Regions from separate parts of the Homo sapiens genome. Here regions 1, 3, 4 and 5 are each linked to region 2. Evidence: promoter capture Hi-C in human tissues and cell types (Jung and others, 2019). All regions are on one chromosome and are shown on one strand. The core of a region is centred on a gene start or on the middle of the fragment in contact, and the rest is flanking DNA. Distances in the headings are between cores, read along the strand shown.

What was found. The method cuts DNA at HindIII sites, captures the fragments that hold promoters and counts their contacts. A contact is called where the count stands out against the background at its distance.
Region 1: a fragment that was not itself captured here is called in contact with the fragment with the promoter of KL in region 2 in 1 of the 25 tissues and cell types used here (lymphoblastoid cells).
Region 3: a fragment that was not itself captured here is called in contact with the fragment with the promoter of KL in region 2 in 2 of the 25 tissues and cell types used here (IMR-90 fibroblasts and lymphoblastoid cells).
Region 4: a fragment that was not itself captured here is called in contact with the fragment with the promoter of KL in region 2 in 2 of the 25 tissues and cell types used here (lymphoblastoid cells and spleen).
Region 5: a fragment that was not itself captured here is called in contact with the fragment with the promoter of KL in region 2 in 2 of the 25 tissues and cell types used here (IMR-90 fibroblasts and heart left ventricle).

Annotation. Positions count from the first base shown.
Region 1 is chr13:33,188,469-33,191,193 of GRCh38, forward strand. All of the region lies in intron 1 of STARD13 (StAR related lipid transfer domain containing 13), which reads right to left. Among named protein-coding and RNA genes, the nearest start is that of STARD13-AS, 88 kb to the right of the region's middle. The HindIII fragment of the contact is 4,720 bases long and covers 1-2,725 here.
Region 2 is chr13:33,015,063-33,017,762 of GRCh38, forward strand. KL (klotho) reads left to right here and starts at 1,361. Exons shown (of 5, transcript NM_004795.4): 1 at 1,361-2,197. The coding sequence starts at 1,379. LOC124903151 (translation initiation factor IF-2-like) reads right to left here and starts at 1,391. Exons shown (of 2, transcript XM_047430819.1): 1 at 774-1,391. The coding sequence starts at 1,380. RefSeq lists enhancers at 965-1,540, 1,541-2,118, 2,327-2,386 and silencers at 1,397-1,466, 2,157-2,256. The HindIII fragment of the contact is 14,739 bases long and covers 1-2,700 here.
Region 3 is chr13:32,822,473-32,825,172 of GRCh38, forward strand. The region is part of intron 4 of LINC00423 (long intergenic non-protein coding RNA 423); the gene reads right to left. Among named protein-coding and RNA genes, the nearest start is that of LINC00423, 88 kb to the right of the region's middle. The HindIII fragment of the contact is 7,635 bases long and covers 1-2,700 here.
Region 4 is chr13:33,167,267-33,170,161 of GRCh38, forward strand. It overlaps STARD13 (StAR related lipid transfer domain containing 13), which reads right to left. Exons shown (of 14, transcript NM_178006.4): 2 at 285-356. Among named protein-coding and RNA genes, the nearest start is that of STARD13-AS, 110 kb to the right of the region's middle. The HindIII fragment of the contact is 7,483 bases long and covers 1-2,895 here.
Region 5 is chr13:32,778,204-32,781,007 of GRCh38, forward strand. No RefSeq gene overlaps it. Among named protein-coding and RNA genes, the nearest start is that of LINC00423, 130 kb to the right of the region's middle. The HindIII fragment of the contact is 9,113 bases long and covers 1-2,804 here.

The DNA.
Region 1 (2,725 bases), core at 44-2,543, 170 kb after region 2:
TCTGCTGCTACACACACACACCCACCCACCCACATGCACACATACTCAACTTCACTGTAAATATCACTCACAAACTCTTTTGTCTTTTATGTCCATTTTTGTTTTCATGGAAACCATCCAACTTTCAATACTCACCACACTAAGATAGTGAAACAGCTTCTTTTGAAGAGGATTCAATTTTCTCCCCGAAATAACTATTTCAATTGACTGAATAGGTTTGTTTCACTGTTCGTCACTTCTAGAAAATGAAATGCATTGAAAAAGCAGTTTGGAGTGATCTAGACTTTAATATCAGATCCTCTGAGCAGGTACTGACCAGATGGGTACAATTTCCTGGCTCTGTGCTTTCTTCATAAAGAATCTGTCAGATTAGTTGGTGAAAATGACAAACGAAAAGACACTTTGCCTTAATAACAAAACCCATGAAATCCCTTAGACTTTTGTAATTATTTTCCGGCTAACTTTGCTTTCTAGGCTTAAGCTGTGAAGTGACATTTGGTGTTTCCTTTTTAAACTAATTGTTATTGCTTATTAGAGCAGACATTTAGTGTCTGTCAGGTATAAGTCAATGACTCTCACACTTTGTATTTATGCTTTTCTTTTGTCATTTAGAAATGTTTTATTTTGTTTCTTTTAATTGCTTAAAAGTAGTGTCATGAATAGCTCGATGCTTCATATAAAACCATAAGGAAGAACTACAAACAAAGCTTTTTTTATTACTTTAATATTTTTTGAGAGGTGATAGAAAGCATGTTTATAATTTGGTTAGAATCTCCAAAGTGGCTGTATCTTTTAAAACTAGTATTTAATGGCTAGATATAACCAACTTTCAGTTATAAGAAAGAAGGAAAGGAGGAAGTGGGAATGGCAGGAAGGAAGTCAGGAAAAGAAGCAGGAGGGCAGGAAGGGAACGACAAACCAGAGAGTCCCTTCCCTTTCCTCCTGCTTTCCCTCCTTCCTCCTTTCGGAGGAAGGAGGGAAAGCAGGAGGAAAGGGAAGGGACTCTCTGGTTTGTCGTCCTTTCAAAATTCCTAAACAAATTCAGTCCTTCCGATGGCACTTTCATAGGCTAGCAGGAGTACTTCTGGACACTTCTAGCTGGTCATCTTGCTGCTGTGTATGAACCTCCCTCCCACAAAGAAGGAACCTGTTTGTGTGCCCTTCCTGTTCTATATGGGTGCCCTTGCTGTGGGACAGGGCCCAGTTCACAGCTATTTCGCTAATCAGAAACTTCAACGCCTTTCTCAATTTCATCTAAGTACAGTTTTCTGCTTGACTCAGTTACTCTCTCATGTACAAAATGGTCCTCTGCCCCGTGTCCTCCCTGTGTTCATCCTTGCCCGGGTGATCCCAGTTTCTAGCAGGAGTTCAGCAGAAGTCACTGATTGAAATGTACCACCTGAAACAGCATCTTACTTTCAACTGCAACCCACTCTAAGCCATTTTATATACTATTGTAAAAATGATGATCCCAAACTTAACTCTAGATTTATGTTATTTTAAAATTTAGCTTCCTGATCCCCTTTTGGGACAAAACAACTTTCTCATTATACTAGATACCCTATAATCACCCAGGAAGTTCACATTAATTGATGACTAAATATTTGGCTAAAGGTCTATCATGGCTAGTGAATACCAATTTGGGCTTTATTTTACCCTAAATCTGGTTTAGTTAAAAATATTTTAAGGATAGGCTGGGTGTGATGGCTCATGCCTGTAATCCCAGCACTTTGGAAGGCCAATGAGGAAGGGTCACTTAAGGCCAGGAGTTCAAGAACACAATGAAACTCTGTCTCTACAAAAAAAAATGAAAAGAATTTAGCCCGGATGTGGCTTCAGTTACTTGGGAGGCTGAAGTGGGAGGATTGTTTGAGCCCGGGAGGTAGAGGCTGCAGTAAGCTATGATCCTATCACTGTACTCCAGCCAGGGTCACAGAGAAAGACCCTGTCTCAAAAAAAATAATAAAATATATTTTAAGGATTTCCTGAGCCAGGCATGAAAACAAAACCCCAAGGGTTTTTAAGCATGTGGTTCTTAACACCACCACCATGAGAGATGAAAAATAAATGATGTACTGTTGGAATACTGCACCCATTTCGTTTTCTTTTCTTTTCTTTTCTTTTTTTTTTTTTTTTGAGACCAAGTCTCACTCTATTGCCTAGGCTGGAGTGCAATGGCACAATCTTGGCTCACTGCAACCTCCGCCTCCAGGGTTCAAGCGATTCTTCTGCCTCAGCTTCCTGAGTTGCTGGGATTACAGGCACATACCACCACGCCTGGCTAATTTTTGTATTTTAGCAGAGATGGAGTTTTACCATGTTGGCCAGGCTAGTCTCGAACTCCTGACCTTGTGATCCACCGGCCTTGGCCTCCCAAAGTGCTGGGATTACAGGCATGAGCCACCGTACCCGGCCACTACACCCGTTTATTAAAGTACTGAATATAAATTACACAGTCTTAAAAATACCAGCATTCAAAAAAAACCCAAAATATCAGCTTTCAAAAATACAAAAACAAAATACCAAGTATTACTGCAATGCCTTATTATACTCATTTCCAAAAAGATGTTGGGATTTTGTAAACAATTTACAAGGTATGTTTATTTTAATAAGTTACGACATAAACAATTACTAAAGTAAGGTCATGTCAAAAACTATATACGCGGTTTTCAGCTTTTTAAGTGTATTTTTCTTTGGGAAGCTTTTATGATTGGCCCACTATGGA
Region 2 (2,700 bases), core at 111-2,610:
AAGGCACGACTTACTGGGTAGGGAGGTAGGGATATTAGCAAGATCCTTCACTTGTCTGGGCTTTCTGTCTTTGAGTCACCTTTGCGCAGTTTTTCACTGGACTTCACAAGCCTCTGAGGCGGCAGGGCAGACAGGACATCCTTATTTTATAGAGGAGGAAACTTAGGCTTACAGAGGTTTCCTGCCCCAAATCACAAAGGTGGAGCCTAGACCTTCTCAGTCTCCACCAACTGTATTTCGGTTAGCCACAATCCTATCTACCCACATCCAAATGGACACTGTGGCTCTGCAACTTCTGTCAAAAGGGCTCTTTGGCAACAGGAAAAACGTCATGGCTCCATTGTATTGTAGAGGATGGGAATGGGTGTTCCGGCTAAATTCTCCCTCCCCTTTCCCTCCACAGCTCAGATGGCAAATGTGCGACCCAGGGACCTCCCGCTCCAGCAGACCTGTGCGCACAACTTTGCACAGATTACCTGCTAAGTCAGAGCCGAAAGGTAACACAGATGCCAAAGGATAATAAAGGTGAATGAGATTTACTCAAAATTGGAAACTTGGTGTTTGGTTTTTCAGGAGAACAATCAACGACTGTGATTTGAAGTTCACCAGGGTATTCTGAGAGATCTAATCAAAGATAGAGTGCTGGTTTGAAATTATTAAAAGGTAACAGTAAAAGGGAGAGCAAAACCCCAGTCCCAACGCAACCCATAAATCTACTTTGTCTTCCTCGAAAGAGGGGCGCGGGTGGGCGCGTCTCCCCGCGAGCATCTCACCTAAGGGGGAATCCCTTTCAGCGCACGGCGAAGTTCCCCCTCGGCTGTCCCACCTGGCAGTCCCTCTAGGATTTCGGCCAGTCCCTAATTGGCTCCAGCAATGTCCAGCCGGAGCTTCTTTGGGCCTCCGAGTGGGAGAAAAGTGAGAGCAGGTGCTTCCCCAGCGGCGCGCTCCGCTAGGGCCCGGCAGGATCCCGCCCCCAAGTCGGGGAAAGTTGGTCGGCGCCTTTTCTCCCCGACGAAGCCGCTCCAGGGCTGCTCTCAGAGGACGCGCGGCAGGCAAAGAGAATGAACCTGAGCGTCCACGAAACGTCCTGCACGGCTCCCGGGAGCTGGGAGAAACAGGTGCCTTTCTCCGACGTCCGCGGGCGACGCCTGCCGCACCTTGCCCGCTGCCGCGCCCCTCCCGGGCACCCCTCGCCCTCGGCGCCCCTGCCCCCGCCCCCAGTGCCAGGGCGGAGGCAGTCCCGGCTCGCAGGTAATTATTGCCAGCGGAGCCCGCCGGGGAGCGGGGGTGGGCGCGCCGGCGGTGGGCGGGCGGGCGCGGCGGGGCGCGGGCATAAAGGGGCGCGGCGCGGGGCCCCGGAGCCTGGCTCCCGCGCAGCATGCCCGCCAGCGCCCCGCCGCGCCGCCCGCGGCCGCCGCCGCCGTCGCTGTCGCTGCTGCTGGTGCTGCTGGGCCTGGGCGGCCGCCGCCTGCGTGCGGAGCCGGGCGACGGCGCGCAGACCTGGGCCCGTTTCTCGCGGCCTCCTGCCCCCGAGGCCGCGGGCCTCTTCCAGGGCACCTTCCCCGACGGCTTCCTCTGGGCCGTGGGCAGCGCCGCCTACCAGACCGAGGGCGGCTGGCAGCAGCACGGCAAGGGTGCGTCCATCTGGGATACGTTCACCCACCACCCCCTGGCACCCCCGGGAGACTCCCGGAACGCCAGTCTGCCGTTGGGCGCCCCGTCGCCGCTGCAGCCCGCCACCGGGGACGTAGCCAGCGACAGCTACAACAACGTCTTCCGCGACACGGAGGCGCTGCGCGAGCTCGGGGTCACTCACTACCGCTTCTCCATCTCGTGGGCGCGAGTGCTCCCCAATGGCAGCGCGGGCGTCCCCAACCGCGAGGGGCTGCGCTACTACCGGCGCCTGCTGGAGCGGCTGCGGGAGCTGGGCGTGCAGCCCGTGGTCACCCTGTACCACTGGGACCTGCCCCAGCGCCTGCAGGACGCCTACGGCGGCTGGGCCAACCGCGCCCTGGCCGACCACTTCAGGGATTACGCGGAGCTCTGCTTCCGCCACTTCGGCGGTCAGGTCAAGTACTGGATCACCATCGACAACCCCTACGTGGTGGCCTGGCACGGCTACGCCACCGGGCGCCTGGCCCCCGGCATCCGGGGCAGCCCGCGGCTCGGGTACCTGGTGGCGCACAACCTCCTCCTGGTGAGTGCGAGGGGCCAGGCGGAGGGCCACGCAGGGGAGACAGAGGGCCTCCACAGGGGCCAGGGGGAAGTGTGGGAACTGAGTCTCCCCCAGACGAGGCTTCACTTGGACACGTGTATGTGGTCACCGGGGGAAACTGAGCAGTTCTGACTTCCCTTGGAAGGCGTGGAATTAGGAGAGAAATCCCTTAGTGGGCACACGAGTGAGTGCCCCTTGGAGTCCATCTGTGGAAAGGAAGCGGTGATAGGTTTCCGCAGTGAGGAAAGAAACTCCTTTCTCTGGGTGTAGAGGAATTCCTAGAGGTGAGGGCGGGGAGGATTTGCTAGGAGTAACTGCAGGAAGAGAATGAGCAGGGTGGATGAAAGAAACACGTTTGTTCTTAAGCCGCACAGATAGCATTACTCTCTGGAGCTGTCACGAGTTCAGTGTTAATCCAATAAGATCTGTCTTGCTTGTGGCACAAGTTCACACTGTTGTGAAAGTGTCAAAACACAACTCCCGGA
Region 3 (2,700 bases), core at 185-2,684, 190 kb before region 2:
GCCAGCATTTTTACACCCTGGAGGAGAGCTGAGAAGAAGCTGGAAAGGATAATATTGTAAGAGCTAACACTTATAGTGCTGATTATGTTACACCAAGCACTGTTTTAGGTGCTTACGTGTATTAATTTGTGGAATCCTTGCAACACTGTGTGAGTAGGTGTATTTGAATTATCTCCATTTTACGGACGATAAAACTGAGGCACAAAGAGTTAGCTAGTCACCCAAGGTTACTTAGTAAAGGTGGGATTTACACAAATTATGCTTTTTCACTGCTGCCTTACACCACCTTGCTGAGAACTTCTCCACACGCCACCAGTGTGCTGGCTCATGAAGTCGTGTGTGTGTGTGTATGAATGTATGAGTGTGTGAGTGTGTGCCTGTGTGTGAGCTTGGGGTGAGCAGGAAGCTCCAGTGGTGCTGAGACTGTTTTACTCACTGCTTTGTCCTCGGCACCTAGCACAGTGCTCAGGAAATGTTTGTGGAATCAATGCAGGAATAAATACACTTAGATTTTTCCAAGTACAGGCTCCTGTAGCTCCTTTGTTAGGAGCTATTTTGCGGCTGTCATTATGGCCCAATTTTCTTTTTTCATTTGGGTGAAAAATGATTTTGGCATTTAAACAGCATGACTTCATTATTGATTTTTTTAAAAAATCTGCCCCTACTATCAAATTCCCCTCTTGGCATTTTGTTACTCTGGATATATTTAGAAACATCTTTGTAGTGTTCTCCTTCGTTCTTTTGTATCTAGGATGCATTTTAACAAGGAGTATTCTATGTATGCAAAATTGTTGTATTTTTATTTTTGTTTATCTCCTGCAGTCCATAATAGAGGTTAAGAGTATGCCATTTTGATAACAAAGAACTTTCTTACTATCTTTTTGATTGACTGAATAGGCAAAGGAAACACCATAATTGTGTGAAATGGTCTGATTTAGAAACCAATTATAAGGAATGTAATTATCTACTAATGAAATATGCATGTAAGTCCTTGGTTTGCTGCTTCTAATGTCACTGTAGACAAATGCATAGCCAGGAGAAAACTTGCATAAAGTAAATTGAAAATCACCCATTTCCAGATTATTACTGAAAATCTCCTGACACCTAACATCTCAGAACCAAAAAGAATACCTGCTTTTCACCTGCAAGTGTCTCACTGTGTGTGTATGTATATGTGTGTGTATATGTAACATGCATGTGTATATGTGTATGTATTTGTGTATATATGTGATACGTATGTGTTTATATGTGCATATGCATGTAATATGTGTATGTGTGTACTTGTGTGTGTATGCATGTGCCTGTATGTGTGTGAGTGGGTAAGTGTGTGCGTGTATATGTGTGTGTGTATATGTGTGTGTGCGTGTGTGTGTCTATGTGTGTGCACGTGTATATGTGTGTGTGTATGTGTGTGTATGAGTGTATATGTGTGTGTTGGGGGGTGAGTGGGGTAGTGGGGGCTCAGACGGGGTGTTTTCTGGTCAAACCTTAAGGTCCACAACTACCCCTTTCTGTCTACTGATAATTCTTGATGATTAAATCCATAGGTTTCTCTGGGCTACAAAGCCAGAACTCTAAGGTCCTTTTTTTAAATTATAAGAACGAAAATAGAAGAAATTCCCTTTGGTTCTCTTAGGAAATGCATGATTGAGAAACAGCCCGTTGTCCTCTTCAGTTTTCATATGCCGTGCACAGTGAGACAGGGGAGCAGAGCCCTGGGAGCCGGCGCGCTCTCGAGACGTGGACTGTCGCCCCGGGGAGAAGACAGCAGACTGTGCTTCTGAGCTTTCGCCCTCTCCTTCCCCGGCAGAGGCGCTTGTGAAACGTTTGCTACAGTTGGGGCAGGATGGAGAAGGCAGGGTCAAGCTGCACAGCCCCAGGGCAGTGGTGCCATTCTCCATGGTGCTAACAGACTGTGAGTGGGATGCTGAAATTTTAGGGTCCCATTTCCCACAGACGTTTGCCTTGCTCATGGCTGTGGTATAAGAGCAAATTCTCCTTATCCTAAGCCAACCAAGCTTGCTTTATTAAAATATCTTTTATGCCTTCTTGTCCCCACTTCACTGCTCCAGTCTCTTCACTTCCTGAATTTTGTCAATTCTAAGACACGTTTGGGTACATTTGAGCAATTCGAAGTGGGGATGCCTCTTACAGTCAATGCTTGTCATAGTTTAATTGGCAGCCTTGGGACATAACATAATGGTATGCTTTATAATCTATGGTGCCCTAGGTTTGATGAAATATGACAACTCTATGGGCTTTGCAAAACTGTCTCCCTTTCGAGCCTTGTCATATGCTACTGCTTCATACAAACTCTGTCCCGAAGGATGTTTTGTGATGACTTGTGTCCCTGGAATGCACTTTCTTCCCGGGCGATCTTTGCTCTGGTTTTTCTCTGCCTCTGACGCTTTCTATTACAGCTTCGTCTCTGCCTATGGAAATCCGTCCTCTTCTTCAGGGCCCAGCTCAAAGGCTCATCACCACCTGGAGTCTCCCCTGATGATCTCATCCTGAAATCATCCCTTCCTGCCCTAAAATCTTACAGGGATTTGCTTGTGCTTCCTCATGGCATTTAGAGGCCTTTAAAAAACTAATGATCAAATTATTTATCTTTCTTAATAAATTCTTATCCTTATCTTTCTTGGTATTTGGAAGCAAATATTACATTTATATTCTCAAACAGTTGATTTTTCATGGACA
Region 4 (2,895 bases), core at 310-2,809, 150 kb after region 2:
TGCTGATGGCAGAATGCTGGAAGGAAAACGTCGAGTTGGGGTTTGCGGTAAAGAGATGGGAATTAGTAGTGGGAAGCAGAAAGTAAAGTGGGCCTGGGAAGTGATATTCATTTCTAAATTGGTATCAGGATAACCCCTGGGCATAGCAAAAAGGCCGAGGGAAAAAGAAAGCGAAGCAAAATGGGCGAGAAAAAAAAATCTGGAAGTCAAAACACACCACAGGATACGTGTGGTTCATTTTGGATTTATTCTCTGTGTAAGAGCGAAGCGAAGGGCTGACGTACCCTCATATAACTGAGCGTATTGCGGGAACCCGGCAGCACGGAGCCAGTCACATGCTTCTTTTGCCTCAATTTCTGAAAAACACAAGAGAGATAAAATTGTGAGTCCCACAGCCGCACCCTAGTACTCTGCCTTCTTAATCATGGAGACACTGGTGAGCTTTGTGCAAGTTATTACAAAGCAAAATTGTTCCAGGTAAGTCTGCATAAGTAGGCTTACCCGGGAGTGGGTGGAAAACGAGCGGGTAATACAAAGGTCCTTGTTATGTGTCTGCTAAGATAATCTTCAATGTAGATCCATAAGTATGTGGATAATAACAAAACCACAGATCATAGAAGACAAAGGCTGAATTTCAGGCAGGGAAAAATGTCTTATTTATACACCAGGGAACCAGGGCACTAGGGGAAAAGAGGGCATTCTTCTTTACAATTCTTTTTTTTTTTAATGGAATTTTTTTTTTAAGTTCCAAAGATTAGGCTAAAAATGTTTATTCAACATTCCTTCATTCTTTCACTCTTGGGATAACTTTAAGAAAGACTACAACTAGATTGCCTATGAAAATGTATTTTCTCATGAAAAAAAGCTAAAATCCAGTGTATTATTGTTTTAAAAATTTCACTAATAGCCTTAATTCCCCATGCATTATAACAAAATGTTCATTAATCAAGCACATTGGAATGATTTCAAGCTGTAGAGTGCGGCATAGAAGAGGAAAGTTGATTATTTGGAATTGAGACTTGAGTTTGATGAGCCTGCCAGAACCTCTGAGGGCCAAGCCCAAGAGGTTGATATGTCCCTTGGGTGACCATTTTTGGTGTGGATGCACCAACAGCCCACCGGACCACCTGCCTGGGGAAGCTGTGGAGTGAGATAGGAGGAGTCTACAGTATGTGAACCAGGTCACTTTTTGACCTTGTGAATCCTGGATCATTTCCCAACCACAACTCTGTTAGACAAATATGAATCCAAGGGGAAAGAAGTTCATCTGTTGAAAGTCCAGTCTCTCCAAACAAAATTAAACAGCCTATTATCACAAGTCTTTACCAAGGCCCTTTCCTCCGCTGTTAGGATGGGTCCCTGTCAGGTCATTGTATTTCCATTTACTATGATGCTAATTTTTCCCCATAGCCAAAGCTGGAGTGTACAGGGCGTTCTTGGGATCACTGCACAGAAATGATCTACACTAACATCACCCTGGGCCTGCGATTGTACCTCAACATTGAAAGCTCAGTGTCTGTGCAGTAAGATGTTTGATGTGCCAGAGCTATTTGGTATATGTTAGGAAAATAGACCAAAGGCCAGATCTTACTCAGGCATCACCAGGAAGAGCAAAACCCTACCGCCTAGTTCCACAGATCTGGTTAAATCTAGATTGAACTTTGTCATTAAATCCAAGGAAACAGAGCCTGTGGTGGCTCCTGCCCCGGAACGCCTGCCTCTTCTGTCATCCCCTAATCTACTGTTACTCCAGGGACTGATGATTTCAAAAGCTTGAGATTTGTCTCTTGTGTGAGGGTTTTCCACTTAAGTGTGACCAGCATGTTCCTACCATGTACCCATTCCTGCCATGGACACATGGTTCAGAAACATCCAGGGAACCAAGCTGGAAAGAAAAGCTATTGAAAGCATTTCTATCAGAAAAGGAGTCTCTGAGTTCCACAACTGCTGTTCAAAACACAGCTTAGCTGAATTGTGCTGCCTGGGCTAACTTGGGCTTTCCTCTGGGAAGGTACAAAAGGCAATTATTGCATTGCTCAAAAGTTCTATTTAGTACCCAGTTGAGAGTCTGTATTTGAAGGTTCCTACTTTGATAACCACACAAGTATTTCAGAGGAAATAGGAAAACATACATTCCATCTGTAACGTGTGGAAAATGTGGTGAGTTGCTCCTGAGTCATGGATAAAGTGCTGCCTAATAGATTTTCAAGCTCAGATTTGCTTCCCGCTCCCATATAATACAGCGGATAGTAACGAGAAAACACCTAATTTCTAGACATGCTCTAAACCTAATTATGAGTCAGCAAGTCTTGGAGAGAAGCACAGAATATTATATTTTCTCTTGGCATTACATGAATCCTATGCCTTTTTCTGTTTTATTATTACCTTTACTACAATGAAAATGTAGTGTTCAGCAAGACAGTCCCAGAGAGCCAGGCCATGAAGAACAAATGGGGAAGACCCACAAGACAGGGGCTCTGCAGCCTAGAAAGCTCAAAGACAGAGAGTGGGAAGTGACCTATGAAAGAGTTCGCACCCCTCCAGCCCAGGGAATGTGGTGAGCTCAGATCCTGAAGATGAAAAGGATAACATGGTGGAGAAGAAGTGGGCAGCCAGGAATCCTTCTAGAAAACTCCCTTTGGAACATCACGTGTTTTCACTAATTTGTGGGATCTAAAAATCAAAATAATTGAACTCATGGACATAGAGATTAGAAGGATGGTTACCAGAGGCTGAGGAGGGTAGTGGGGGCTGGAGGAGAGGTGGGGATCATTAATGGGTACAAAAAAAAATTAGAAAGAATGAATAAGACCTACTATTTGATAGCACAACAGGGTAACTACAGTCAATAACAACTTATTTGTACATTTTTAAATAACTAAAAGAGTATAATTG
Region 5 (2,804 bases), core at 205-2,704, 240 kb before region 2:
AAGTATTATTTAAGTTGAATAATTGCGTAACTGAACAAAATAAATGTATAATATAAACTTTAAAAATAAGCACTAAATAAATAAGTTGCCAGTAGCAGTTTTATTAATTCGTTCAGCAAACATTTATTGAGTGCCTTCTATGTGCCAGGCACTCAAAAATTTTACTCAGTTTTGCAGAGGATAAAGTGTGATCAAGATAGTGTAAGTCCCTGCTTTTGTGGTACTTTCATTATGTTAGAGGTGGGTGAATAAGAAAAAAAAAATTAATATATGATGTCAGATTGTGAAAAATGCAGTGAAAAAAAGGAAAAGCAGGATAGAAAGTACTAATGATAGGTGGAGAAGTTATTTTATATACTTTGAAACATACAGTTTAGGATTGTTATATCTTCATGATGAAGTGATATGGTTTATAATTTAAAATGTCACTTGGTATCTTTATGAATATTTTTAATCTACTTTGCTTGATATTAATGTAGCCATATCAGTTTTGTTTCAGCTATTGTTTGCATGATAAAACTTTTCCTTTTATTTTCAACATACTTACGTTCTCATGGTTAAAATGTGTATCATGTAAACATTTTATACTTGGATTTTGTTCTTTCATCTGAGAATCTTTGTTCTTTAATAGTGTTTAAGCTCTAGTGTAGTTACTTATATAGTTGATTTTAAATCTACCATTTTGCTATTTATTTTCTTTTATGCCAGTCTCTCCTTTATTTTCTCCTTTCCTGCCTATTTCTGGCTCATTTAAAGTGCTTTTTATTATTCTATCTCTTCCATTAGCTTTTTAGTTAAACCTGATTGTGTTATTCTTTTAGAATTACAGTATTTATGTTTGGCTTATTATAGTCTGTGATTAATGCTTTTGCCACCATCCGAACAATGCAAAAAGTTTAAAACAATTCAGCTGTATCTGCCTCTCTAGCCTTTGTGCTAAAGTTGTTGTCTATTTTCAGTATAAAAATGCTACAGTATCCTTGTTGAATAGTCATGTTCTCATATTTACCCATAGATTTTCCATTTTTGCTCTGTTCTTTTTTTAAGAATCATTATGTGCTATCATCTTAGTTCATTTTTCTTCTTTTTTTTTAAAATTTCTTGTTTTCAGCACTTTGACTGTGGTATGCCTAGGTATGATTTTCATTTTATTTAATTTGCTTGGAGTTTACTGACTGGTTGATGTCTTTCATCAGTTTTGAAACATTTTTGGCTGTTATCTCTTCACATATTCTACACTATTTTCTCTTTCTGACATTCCAATTATAAATCTATTAGATTGCTTGTATCCCATCTGCCTTTAAGTGTATTTTCTGTTCTTTCCACTTTTTCTCTGTGTGCTTCATTTTGGATATTTCTGTTGATCCATCTTCAGATTTCTTTTGCTGTCTGTTCTTCCCGTTAACTTTTCAATTAGTTATTAACTTCAAATACTGTATTTTTCAGGCCAGTGTGGTGGCTCACACCTGTCATCTCAGCACTTTGGGAGGCTGAGATGGGCGGACCACTTGAGGTCAGGAGTTCAAGACAAGCCTGGCCAATATGGTGAAACCCTGTCTCTACTAAAAATAAAAAAATTAGCCGGGCGCCTGTAATCCCAGATACTCTGGAGGCTGAGGTGGGAGAATCGCTTGAACCTGGGAGGCAGAGGTTGCAGTGAGCTGAAATCATCACACCACTGCACTCCAGCCTGGGGAACAGAGTGAGACTCTGTCTTTAAAACAAACAAACGAAAGACTGTATTTTTCAGTTCTAGAATGTCCAGTTAATAATATTTTATAGATTTCAGTTCTCTGTTGAAAGTCTCTTTTTACTCATCTTTTCCCCTTTTCTCTTAATTATATAGTCCAAATCTTTACCAATTAACTACAACTTCTCAATCATTTGTCGATCTGATTCTTTTAACTCTTTTTTCTATTGAACATCCATCAAACTTTTCCTGGTCACATTTTTTCCTTCCTTGTGTGGATCTTGTAACTTTTTTCTTATTTGAGGACATTGAATTAAAAGTACTAAAGGATTGAAGTTGATGTGATTTTTCTCCCAAGAGCAGATTTGCCCTTTTTTCTTTTAGGCATTCTAGAGATTGATGACTTCAAGAGTTGAGCCTGGGTTGCAACTTTAGTTAGACTCAATCTGGTTGTTTCAAATGTCTTAATGGTAAGACATGCATTATATGACAGACTAGCACAGCAAGCCTGCAGGAGATTTCATTCAGGCTATTCCGCCCAGCTCCCCAGCAGGAATGCTATTTGACACAGAGTAGTCAAAGGCGGCGTCTTTGAGAAGGTAACATCTGAGCATGGACTTCAATTAAGTGAGGCATCAAGCCTTATGAATATCTGGGAGAAGAGTATTCCAGGCAGAGGGAAGAATAAGTATGAAAGTCCTTAAGCAAGAATGAACTTTGTGCATCAAGGATTTCAAGAAGGCTGATGTTTCTGGAGTTGAATTGAGCAAAAGCTGAAGGAAGGGGTAGGATAGAAAGGAGATAAGAAAGAGCCAGATCACACCTATGATGTCTCTTGGTAATTTTGTTCAAAAGTTGATGGGAATCCATTGTAGGCTTTGAGTAGGAGAGTGGTAAGGTTTGTTTTAATTTTTAAAAATACTACTCTGGCTATTGATGAGAATGGCTAATAGAGTGTAAGAATAGAAGCCCCCCAGTTTAGTTAAATTATATTAGTAGTCTAGACAATTTGTTCATTTCACAATAAGAGTGATAGAAATTGTGATAAGTACTTGGATTCATGATGTATTTTGAAGTTACAGTTAGTAGCCCTTTGCTGATGGATATGGAAGCG